Regions from separate parts of the Homo sapiens genome. Here region 2 is linked to region 1. Evidence: promoter capture Hi-C in 16 types of primary human blood cells and fetal thymus (Javierre and others, 2016). All regions are on one chromosome and are shown on one strand. Each heading gives the region's core, a stretch centred on a gene start or on the middle of the fragment in contact. The rest is flanking DNA. Distances are from core to core; before and after follow the strand shown.

Region 1 (6,330 bases), core at 1,564-4,063:
GTGCAGTATACAACCTGTGTGGCTGTACAGAACATCCCTGATGACCATGGCCATGGTGAGGGTGCAGAAACTGTGCTTCTCTAGGCAGATGCTTGGATTATTTCTCAAAAAGAGGATGGTGCCATATCCTACGGACCAAGCATGCAATACACCTTGCCAACAAACTGGTGGGTTTTAATAGTCCACATAGGGGACTATTAAAAGGGGAAGCAAAAGGCAAAGTGCATACTCAAGCAAACAAGAGTTCTGAGGTGGTGGCCAGGGACCGCTAAGAAAGAAGGGGTATCCTATAATGGGGGGCTCCTGCACATCCCATTCAGTGGGCTGAGAGGCTGCCCTGTGGCACACTCTCTGACCTCAGGTCAAGACGTCACTAGGTGTGGGAGAAAAGTGGAAACGTGTGCCTGCATCAGTGGATATCAGGTAAAACGGTGGCTGAAAGAATGGATGTGAGAGGCGGTGGCAGCAAGATCGGAGGTGAGGGCTGTGATTTAGGGGAGCCTGAAGGGTTCTGTCTTATCAAGTGACCACCCAGTTTACTGTTGAACAAGGGCGCTTTTGATCATAAAAGTAGGAAGAATTAATAATTACATGAGGACTACCCCAGGCAAACAGGAGGCGTGGCCACCCTTTTCCTGATTTGATCAATTAAGGTAATTGCCCAGTTACTGTCGTCCTTCACGCTCAGTCTTGCTGCTTTGGGGACATTCTGAGCAGGCTGTCAGCAGGCCTTGCATGTATGGGAAACATGAAGACTTTTGGTGGGGCTTCTCCCCACCTCCAGCTGCCCTGGGCCTCACTCTGCCAATGAGAGGCCTCCTGTAGAATACCATAGGAATATCATAGGAGATACTCCTATGATATTCCGTCCACTTTCACCACCCCAGTATTCCTTCCTTAGACCCTCCACTTTGGGTGAAGGCAGATGAGAAAGCGTGTTCCCAGGAGGGTGACTATTAGACTCTGCTTTTCCTGTTACTCACAGAGTCTTTTCTCTTTGTGAGAATGGCAACCCTCTAGTAAGCTTCTTAAATAGAGGCCCAGGCCAGGTTATCTCCTGAAGCCGTCTATTCTTCCACAGAGTTTAACAGGAATATTTGAGTAAGGTTTAAAAAAGATCCATCTGCACGACACATGCAAAGAAGTAAATTTTAGGCATATTGTGCATGATCAGAGAAGAGGAATTTCCTCAGTGCATATGTGGCAAGGTTTTTCCATTCTTCGGGATGCAAAAGGAATTGTAAACAGAGTGTGCATTTTCGTGATTGGCTCTAGCATTTTCAAAAGCTGGCTAAAGCACAAGCAGTCAGCTTAGATTCATTTCTGAACACTCTCTTACTTTCCGCTCCTCGGAGCAGGGTTGAGTTTAGCGTGACACAAAGAGGGAGATGGAGAGAGCAGGCCATGGTAGGTCTGAAAAAAAGAGAATCAAGAGGTCACACTGAGGGGGAGAGCGAGAGAGATGAGGGAGTCTCCTCTTCCTTCTATATCTGACGTTGCCAATCCCCAAACCATAATAGATAACACTATTACCTCCAGTTTTCTCAGAACAACTCTGAAAAGTTATTTTATCCCCATTCTACAAATGGATAATCCAAGGCTCAGAGAAATCAAGAATCCTTGTTCTAATTCCCTTGGCTAATGTGTGGCAGTGCTAGGATATGAACCAAGTCTGTAGAATTTTATAGTCTCTAGGGTTCCAAATAACTGGTGTGGCTCAAGAGCTGTTAATCTGAAATGTAACTGCTTTAGGCATTCCTCCCTGCCACTGTCTGGTGGGAATAAAAAAGTAAAGAAGGAAAACAGGAAAAAGACTGAGTAGATGGAGAGGGTGAGTTTCCTAAAGAAAAGAAATTACTGCAACCAATGGAAGTAATCCATGAGGAGGCGAGGGAAGAGGAAGACAGGGCTGGGCGGCTGAATCCCAATGGGGTAAAGAATGCAGTTCTAGTATTTCTTAATGGTTTAAGAGAACAAGCTTAGCATGAAGTCTTGCTTCTTCCACTTGCTAGGTGCTAGGTATGTGACACTTGGACAAATGACACAGATTCTGTGAACCTCAGTTTTTTCACCTGCAAAATGGGATGATGATAATAATAATAATGCTCACCTTGTCTGGTGGTTAAAAAGATTAAGGGAAGCAATGAACAAAAAGTACCCAGCACAGTGCCAGGGGTACAGTCTAACTGTTCTCCAAACCATACCCTTTCTTTATGTTCTGAAAAACTCTTCATGGTGGGGAATTTCCTGCCTTATTTTTCATTATCTCTGCACCTCAAGCAGCATGCATTTTGTTTTTTATGCCAACATCAGTGGATATTGTTTTGCTTTCTAATTCTTTCCCCCCCTTTTCTACAGTTTAATCTTCTGTTCTGGAAACAGAGGTTACCTCCTATAAAACCTCCCTGGCCAAACTTTTCCCCATGGACACAATGTTTTCCTTAACCAAACATTAACTTGAAGCCAGGGAAAAAGCAAGGCCTGTCCACTTCTGCACGGACCATCAACGGAGCAGTTTCTTCAGATACCATCCTTTTTTTTTTTTTTTAAATGTTAGAAATCTTTCACTAATTAATCAAGGTTTCACATGAATGCCTATCTTCTACCTGACAGCCAAAGTCATAGAAAGAGGAAAAATACAGAGTAGGTTCTACCTAAAGTCTGCCCTGCGGCTATTTAAACAGATACAGAATGACCAAATCTGGAGACACGTATTTAAAATATTCCTTCTATCTCCCCCTCCTTCTGTGAAAGATATCTGAATGCATTCGGCCCACAGCCTGTTAAAGTTTTTTTTTTTTTTTTTGAGGCGGCCAGACTTGGAACACTCAGGAATACAGACAGACGTAGGAATTGCTTAAAAACAAGAAGTTCTCCCACCCTTGTTGGAGCGAATGCGCGAGTCTGACAGTGAACCTTTTGGGAAAGAGCCAGCATTGTAACCGTGCTCGGTGACTTCTCTGGCTTTATAGGGAACAGATGTGAGGATAGCAAGGGGCGCACACGTGAAATGCCTGGCAGGTACCCCTTTGTGGCTCTACTTACTTCTTGCCATTCCTCTGCCCTCCAAGTGTAGAGGGGACACCGTGGGCCTTGGCAGTCGCGTTCCGACTCCGGTCTGGTGTATGGGTTGCACTCGGTCTCTCTGGCTATTTTGTGTGTTCCGATCTGACAGCCCACATGCCTCTGCTGTACGCCTCGGCCACAGGACACAGAGCACTAAGAAGACAGAGAACGTAAGTGGGAGCTTCGGCTCATTTATTTTTTGGGGGGGCGGGGGGTGTCGAGGGTCACAGAGGAGGGGAATGCACTCCTAATCCAATGACTTTCATAGCTATCACATCGCTTTCTAATTTGCAATGAAAGGGATCCTAGATCATGTCTTAAACCTGGAAACTCACTGCTTATCTTATCCACGCTGGAGAGTGAGGAAGGTGCTCAAGTTTGGAGGAATCCCTCAAGTTAATGTAATTCTTAGAGGATTGAAGAGGTTAATAAAAATCATTATGAATCATTTAGCACAACCTGGAAATAGTGCTGCCATGAGAAATGAAAACTTGAAATGATTTCTATCCTGGAGGATTTGAGACTCATGAAAACTGGAGAGACAGTGTTGTACAAGAAGAATTTCTTGGCAGATTAAAAATATAACCCAAGGAGAAGTAAACCACTGAAGATTTTAGGACTTTATAAGTAGAATTATTTTCTCCAGTCTCTTCCTTTTCTTGCTCCTATTCATGGAGATAAGGCGATATTTTTTTAACCACAGAATTCACTAAAGAATTTGTGTCTATTTACAACCTCAGATGAATATATGAAGAATAAAAGCTGACAGGAAAAACCATTTCCTCGGGCTTAATGTTTTCAGCCCTTGAAAAATATTGTTAATCATGTTGAAACATTTTGCTGACCAACTTGCAAAACACCATATTAAATCTGCAATTAACTTTCCTCTAAATTAATTTTTTAATGGTTTCCTCATTGCTGGGTTTCATAATCTCACTTATGGCCAGGCCAAGAATTATTGTCTTGATTAAGGTTTTGACAGCCAGAAACTAAAGGCAACATTTGGAAAGAATGGTATATTATTACACTTAGCTATTAAAAATTATTTCCAAATTTTTGTGATAGCTCAGCCTCCATTTTTTGGTCTGGTGTTGAGAAAATAAGCTTAACATACATTAAAGCCATATTCCTAAGAGGAAGTCTTCTTAAATAATAGAATCATGACCTTTCAAACTTGAAAAAATTATTTTCCAATTAACCTGTAGCAACATTCAACTTTCTTTGAGACTATTAATGGAAATTTACTATCAAGAATCACACCCAAATGTATTCTGCTGAATGGTAATTTTCTCTCCATTTCAGATTTTAAGAAAACAGGTAACGATATTTAGAAGGTAACTTGAGAAATCATACTGTTTCAGATAAATCTATGCCAGAGAGGAGAACCATATGTTCACATCAAAGCTAGCTGAACAGAAGAAAATATTTTGGATCAACATAGCTACTATTGTTTGGGCTCAATTGTATTAATTGGATTGAATGAGTTTGTGACCCACAAGAAACCAGACTTTTAAAGTCATTATGTCCTGGGTGTAATGGGAGGATTCCTGAACACAAGTGATGACCCTATCTATAGAGAATGGCCATTTAATGCTCATTAGAGCTACATGAATAATATTTCCCATTGATTACACTGGAAAAGAATGTACTGTAACATGATAGAGTTACCCCATAAATGATGGACATGTTCAAATATTATCATCATCAATAAACAACAACCAAAAAGTCTTTTGACTATTTCAATTTGGGGTCTTAAATATAAAAGAGCACGTTTCTGGAACAATATATCCAAATACAAATACAGAAAGAATATTGTAAACAAATTTGAGTTTGGTATAGGACTCAACTATATGCAGAATCTCATAATGTTTTAATAACCTAAAGAAAAATGAAAACATATTTAAAGACTTTTAGAATGTATAAGACTATTCAGGCTACTAAATAAATGAAACCTCTTTTTGAAGCTATTGTAATTGAAAAAATTACTTATGGTTCAACGAAGGCACGGTACTAAGAGCCATAAGTATCCAACATTTAAAAAATCACTTCCTACAATGTTTGATAATTTTTCAAAAGACAAATTAAGACACAGGAAAGTTCAATTATACGATATGTCATTCTGGCTTCTGATTTTCATGATGCAAAGCCAGCTTTGAAATACCACATTCAAAAGTTTCTACATGACTTAAGTGCTCACAGCAAGGTACAAGCCTGCCTTTCTGAATAATGCATTCACAGTAATCTTTGCTCAAAATGAGGTCCACTCCATCGGAGTTAGTTTTCTGTGTTCAACTTTTCTTCCTGTGCTATCTCAAGGGAGGCAACAGTTTGCATAGAGAGCCAGCCAGGCTTGCTTGGAATTCTGAGAGATTTGTGCAGGCACCCCATGAATAAAACAGCAGCAGAAAGACCTCTGTGTGACCCCGGAGGCAGTGATGGTGGTGGTATGTGTATGTGTGTGTAAATCCAAGTTTTCTTGTTCTGTTCAGTACACCTTTTAGTTCGTTTGCAGATGAAAACATCTGAATGGCCTCTATTAATGTGCTCCCCCCACAGCCATCATCCCACCACCACAGTCTATTCGTGCAGGTTTCAAAGTAGACGTTTTTCACTCTGAACTCCTGAGCTGGGAGCTATGTTTCATCTCTCTCTACTCCCCACTGTGCAATGCTAGTATGCAGAACTCACCAACTTAAAAGGGGAACTTGATGCTTATTTCCATAGAGAGAAAGAATCTCCATTGAACTTTTGATGTTTAGGGAATCATAATATATACTTGAAAACCTAGAAATAGTTTTATATACTTTCTTCCAGGATTACTGCTGAAATTATGGTGATGACATTAAAGCAGCGATTAGTTTGAAAAACAACTATATAAACCAACTTTTATAAGTAACAATAATAGCAATAATAACACAAACTTTTACTAAACACTTACTATATGCTAGGGTTTCTATACTAGCATACAGTATATGCTAGTATACTGAGGTTTCTCAATTAAATAATTCTTTTTTGTGTGTGGGGGGGGCGTTGTCGTGTGCATTGTAGAAAGTTTAGCAGCATACCTGGTTTGTAACTACCAGATGCTAGTTCCCCCTTATTCCCCCCCAACTTGTGACAAAACTGTCTCTAGACATTCCCAAATGTCCCATGGGGTACAAAATCACCCCCATTTGAAAGCTTAGCTCTAGGCTAAGCATTTTACATAAAATACCTCTGATACTTCCCAATAAACCTTTTAGGCAGATACTTCATAAATAAATA
Region 2 (6,330 bases), core at 1,986-4,485, 1.1 Mb after region 1:
AGACTTTATTCAGGATGCTCAATTTGCTTTAAATCCTAGTCCTATAATTCCATCTCACAAGACATAAACAAAAAATGTCCATACCAAAACCACCTGTGGATTTCATTTATCATTTCAAGTGAACCACCGTCTCGGCATGGCAGTCGGATAAACTAAAGACTTGGCAAAAGATTTCAGGGAATGACAGCTCATTGATCAAACACGAATGTGTTTGCCGTAGTTACTGTAGATGTTGTATAAACTTCTATTCCCAAAGTCTGACCAAACCTTAGATGTAGGCAACTTTCCTTCAGTGCTGATTGGCAGGGCTCTAATGTGTAATCTAAAAAGTGAACCTGCCATTTCACACTTCCAAATTAAATATTTAATGACTGATATGTTTCAGGGTTGATGCTATGCCACATAGAAGCACTTTGTCAAGAATCAAACCATGCAATTGAGATGGCAAAAGAGCACAGTGGCTCACACCTGTAATCCCAGCACTTTGGACGTGCAGCCTCGCCTCCCCGAGTGCCAGGGCAACCGGCCTGAGCCACAGCGGCTCCCTATCCCAGCACTTTGGGAGGCCGAGCCAGGTGATTGTTTGAGCCCAGGAGTTTGAGACCATCCTGGGCAACACAGTGAGACACTGTCTCTCTAACAAAAAAAATTTTTTAAATAGTCAGGCATGGTTGTGCGTGCCTGTAGGCCCAGCTACTTGGGAGGCTGAGGTGGGAGGACTGCTTAAACCTGAGAGGTTGAAGCTACAGTGAACCATGATGGGGTCACTGCACGGCAAACTGGGTGACAGAGTGATACCCTATCTCAAAAAAAAAAAAAAAAAAAAAGTTGGCAAAAGAATCCCTGGAGAAAAGATAATTATTAAGCCACAAAGATAAAAAGATATTTCACCAACTATGGATTTTACACACCCTCTCAAGCTTCTTTCTCAGTAAAACCTTTAAACTATATTGATAGCTGAACCAGAGAGGAAAGCAAGCCAATAAAATTAGGAGGTCGCTAAAAATCCAAAGTCATGGCCATGCCAATCCAACCTGCGGCTGTAACTGTGTGAAGAATATAAAACTGGCACATAGAAAGAATGAGGTAATATTGGATAAGGTATCAATGTCTACACACTTTAAAAGCATCTCACCATCAAAAAGTATGGAATTGGACATAGTTCTACATATGTCCTATTTACCAAAATAATCACCCCTATAAATGTAACCCACTTCCTGGAGTTGAAAAATAATCTTTAGAATCAACCTGACAAAGCCAATGCCTCTCTTACCTGAGGTTCAAGACAGGACAATGATTTACAGATAGGACCCAACCTGGCTTTTCCCCCCTTTTAAAGAAATCAATGGCATTTAAATATGGAAATGAATTGTTAAAAGAATAAAGAGATGGTAGTAAACGCCAAAAGAAGAGGAAGGTTAGCTTTCATTGGGATAAGTATCCTCTGTCCTCTTGTAATTACCAGTGAGAAGCTCTTCTGTGCCTGAGGAAGAGAGACAGAACAGGCTCAGAGGAGCAGCCAGGTGCTTGCTTCACTGATAGAGGTGACAGACCCCTCAGAGACGAAGAAGCAGAGACGGACTGGGAGATGCCACTGCCTCACTTAACTCAGAACATCTCTTTCTTTTGAAACTTGAATTTGGGGAGAAAGTGCTCAATTATTTCTTCTAGTTAAGGCTTGGGGGCAGTCAGGTGGGCAAATCGGTCATTGGTGGTGGGGAGGAAAGAAAAAAGGAAGGATGAAAAAGTGAGAAAAAAGGAAGGGAGGGAAGAAGAGGAGAATGATGGCAAGAGAGTAAAAAGCAAAAGAAGAAAGAAGAGAGAAAGAAAACGGGGGAAGGACAGAGAAAGAACAGACAAGAGCTAGCATTATATCTCTTCTGGTGGCTTCCAGACAGACTGCCATTCTTCTCAATCAACCCTTCCCTTCTTTCTTCTTTTTCTTCTTCACCAAATTCCAGGATACCTGGGTAGGTGATGAACATGAGGAGAAAGGAGAAACGGTAAATCCACCCAAGCAGGAAGGAGTAATTTCCAACTCTATCACCCATCTCCCAATGCCTCACAAATTCTGTGGCCTTAGAGGGGCAAACTGAGGTTTTATAAAGGTTAACAGAGGTTTTATAAGGGTTCTAATTTACCTGGACCTCAGAAGAGGGACAAGCCTGCACATCTGGGCTTTGGCATAACAGAAATTATGCTTAAAGTTAGCCAGTGATTTTCAAGTAAACATGAATATGTATATACACTACATGGCCGTTCTCTTTTGGTGACAGAAATGTGCTCAGCATTCACATCATTCTCGCTTGGTTTTTTCCAAGTAATGAAAAGGGGCAACGAGAAAATATGCAGCTCAACACATTTCTTATACCAATCTCCAAAGCAAGGGCAGTCAGTGGCATGCCAGAAATGAAAACCTGCTATCTCTTTTTTTTCCAGTCCAATGCTTAGCACACTGGATTACAGAGCCTTCAAAAGTTTTAAGAACAGGTATCTTTGAAGCTGTCTTTTGTCAAGTCTCTGTCATTAAAAGTGAGTTGACTCACCTACCTCTATTAATACATCTGAGGTCTCTCTTCATCTTTAAGAGCCACTGAATAGAGCAAGATTGGAGGATAAAATATTTAAACCTCTTTTAGGAACATCATGGGTGAGTTTTGGGAAAGCAAAGATACCAAATTAGAGACAACAGGAAACGTCAGTAGTCTTACGGCTTTTCTTTGCCAACATGAGCTTCTAGCAAGACCAGATGCACTTCGGATCAGCCTTTCCATAACTTATCCATTAGAGATGTCTTTAAGCACATTGACACCCAATTTTGCCACCTTCATCTGAATATGAGAAGAGTGCTCATTTCACGTTTTCACGTTGCATTTGACAGATTAAAACTTGAAGATATGTTTTTGTCAAGCAATTTGAAAAGAATTTTAGTAGCTCTAATTGACGTACAGAACTAGCCTCTACATTAATTGAAACATAAACCATAACTGGTGTAAATCAAATCATGATTGATACTCTCTTGCCTAGAAGTATCTGGTGTGAATTAAGTTATGAGAAACACTGCATCCCAAACCAGTGACCTTACAATCAAAGCTTCTCCAAAAAGCTGACTTGGTGAGCAAATAGTGAAATGTGCCACATAAAGCCCAAGCTTTTGACTTCTGAAAGTTGTCTTTTGTAGACTACCTTGTTGTTAGAGAAAGTATGTTAAGAGGTTACTCCCCAAGATTTCACAAGCCTTTTTTTAAAGGAATGGTTTTAAAAAGCAAAATACTATAATAAGGCAAAATAGAAGGCAGACAAGCGATCAGTGAAAAGGCAAGCTTAAACTAGGTAAGTTTAGAAGATGTCTTTACTTGGTGAATCACTTATTAACCTTACATTTCTTTTTTTTTTTTTTTTTTTTTTTTTTTTGAGACAGAGTTTTGCCCTTGTTGCCCAGGCTGGAGTGCAATGGCGCGACCTTGGCTCACCACAACCTCCGCCTCCCAGGTTCAAGCAATTCTCCTGCCTCAGCCTCCTGAGTAGCTGGGATTACAGGCATGCACCACCATGCCCGGCTAATTTTGTATTTTTAGTAGAGATGGGGTTTCTCCATATTGAGGCTGGTCTCGAACTCCTGACCTCAGGTGATCCACCCACCTCGGCCTCCCAAAGTGCTGGGATTACAGGCGTGAGCCACCGTGCCCAGCCTTAACCTTACATTTCTAAAGCACTAAGAAGTTTCTAGATTTGAGTTAACACTATTATCTCTTGAAGCTCATATACCCTACGAGGTAGACAATGCAGATAGATACAGTGATTCTCATTCCACACGTGAAGAAACTGATTTTCAGAGACTAATTTGCCCAAGGTCACACAACAAATCAAGGTAGAAGCAAAACTTGAACCAATGTCTTCCAGTGTCCAGTTCAGCACTTTTCAACCATGCCCTTCTTGACTAAGGAGTCCGTTTTAAATATATGCTTTCCCAATGCCCATTGATACAGACTTTCTCCCACTTTCCTACCATTTCTCCAACTGTTCCTTTTTTCTCTCTGCTTACCGTCCTTGTTCTGTCCCCTAAATATAGACCTTCAACTGTTTGCCTTTTCTTTTTGTAACTCATCCCACTAGATGGGTCTCATCCATTTTCATAGCCTCTATGAAGACAATGAAGACAATTCCCAAACCTACTGGTTCCAGTCTACACCTTAAACTCCAATGCCACATGTCCATTCAACAACTAGTCACCAAACACCAAGTGTGTTCTAGGTACAGTGTTAGATTTTTTGTGGATGATGCTATGAACAAGAGAATAAAAGTTTCTGCCTTCATGAAGCTTGCAGTCTAGAAGGGTTGAAATAATTACTAGTAAGAAACAATTACTATGAACTGTATTATACCAAGGTCAAATAGAGAAGGACATTCAGAGGAAATGAGGTTGAAGTTTGGAAGCCAGATTTCTTTGAACAGGCTTCAGATTTTACTTTGGAACCACATAAACGTTTTATTCAAATGTAAAAAGGTTTTAGATAAACAATCTCTAAAAACAGATAATTCAAAACTCCAAAATTTGAGTTTATATCCATAACAAGAAATACCTACAGACAAAAAAAACACAAAAAAATCTTTAGGCAATTCCCTGCTATGAGCTTAGTTTTGTCCCCCCAAAATTCATCTGCTAAAATCCTAATCCTCAGTACCTCAGAATGTGAATGTATTTACATAGGCCCTTTAAAGAGGTTATTAAGGCAAAATGAGGTCATATGGGTGCGCCTAATCCAATACAATTGGTGTCCTGAGAAAAAGAGGAGGTTAGGACAAGAATGAGCATGTATCCAGCAGAAAGACCAGGTGAGGACACAGAGGGATAACAGCAGGAGTCTGGCAGCCAAGGAGCAAGGTCTCAGAAGAAACCAAACCTACTAACACCTTGATCTGGGACTTCTAGCCTCCAGAACTGAGAGAAAACAAAGTCCATCGTTCAAGCCACCTGGTCTGTGATACCTTGTTATGGCAGCCTCGGCAAATTAATACAATCCCCATATTGTAGACTCTCTGATCATATCTCCTTCAGAACCCTTACCATATTGCAATTTATCTTTTATTCTTGTGATTTTGGATTGATATCTATCTCCCAGGCTATAAACTTCATGAGGACAGAAAGAGAGGGTGTTTCTCCAAAGTGCCTAGCAAATGGTTGGCTCTTGTGATGGTTTAAAAACACAACCTAAAAATTCTGTTACACTCCTCCCATTGAAAGGTAGGGTCCATGTGCCCTTCTCTTTAATTTGGGCTCTTAGACTTGACCCACAGAATATGACAGAAGTGATTTTTGACAGTTTCCAGGTCAAAGGGTTAAGAGAATTCCAGTTCCTCTCTCTTAGATACTCAGTCTTGGCGCCCACCCACCATGCTCTGAGGAAACTGAGCCGCACAGGGAGGCCATGTGTAGGTTCTGGCTGATGGTCCTCACTGTCAGTCCCAAACAATGCCAGCAACAACTGCCAGACATGTGAGTCAGGAATCCTTCCAGATGAATCCAGCTGCAGCTACCATCTGGCTGCAACCACGAGAGACCCCAAGCAAGAAAAAAAAAAAAAAAAAGCCATGCGCGATAATAAAATTGTGTTTTGTTTTTGTTTTTGTTGTTGTTGTTGTTGTTGAGACAGAGTTTCACTCCGTCACTCAGGTTGGAGTGCAGCAGCGTGATCTCAGCTCACTACAACCTCTGCCCCCAAGTTGAAACAAGTCTCATGCCTCAGTCTCCTGAGTGGCCGGGACTACAGGCACACACCACCACACCTAGCTAATTTTTGTATTTTTAGTAGAGACGAGGTTTCACCATGTTGGCCAGGCTGGTCTCAAACTCCTGGCCTCAAGTAATCCACCCACCTCGGTCTCCCAAAGAAATTGTTTCAAGTCACTATGTTTTGGGGTGATTTGCTATGCAGCAACAAATGACCTAAATAGCATTCTATAAATAGTTGCTCAATAAAACACTTTCTAGGAATTTTCTACAAATGCTGCCCCTAAATGCTTTGGGATGTCTCTGCAAATCTCAGCAAGTGACCATCACTCTACCTTTATTCTCTCACTGGTAGGCTCTCCAATTAAATATTCATTCAGGAAGCTCATAGCTAGGAAAGGAATCTTACTGTTCAGTTTTGACCCTAAATACAGCCTAAGCTTTCAAAATGCAGTAAAGACAGAAAGTCCTAGAGAGAGAATAGCTTTCCAGGCCCCATTCCTTCTACTCCTGAGCCAGTTTCTGTTCATTGGCATTTGCAGCAGGCCCTGCTGTTTGTGGGCATAAAACATTCTGGTTGCTTGAGTGATGCAACATCA

The links. Contacts are between HindIII fragments. The CHiCAGO score rates a contact against its expected background, and 5 or more counts as called.
Region 2: a fragment that was not itself captured here is called in contact with the fragment with the promoter of ADAMTS9-AS1 in region 1 in 1 of 17 cell types (erythroblasts); the score reaches 5.4 in erythroblasts.

Annotation. Positions count from the first base shown.
Region 1 is chr3:64,558,533-64,564,862 of GRCh38, forward strand. ADAMTS9-AS1 (ADAMTS9 antisense RNA 1) reads left to right here and starts at 2,814. Exons shown (of 2, transcript NR_110151.1): 1 at 2,814-3,236. ADAMTS9 (ADAM metallopeptidase with thrombospondin type 1 motif 9) reads right to left here. Exons shown (of 40, transcript NM_182920.2): 30 at 3,046-3,219. The HindIII fragment of the contact is 2,192 bases long and covers 1,977-4,168 here.
Region 2 is chr3:65,706,884-65,713,213 of GRCh38, forward strand. The region is part of intron 1 of MAGI1 (membrane associated guanylate kinase, WW and PDZ domain containing 1); the gene reads right to left. Among named protein-coding and RNA genes, the nearest start is that of MAGI1-AS1, 180 kb to the right of the region's middle. The HindIII fragment of the contact is 172 bases long and covers 3,150-3,321 here.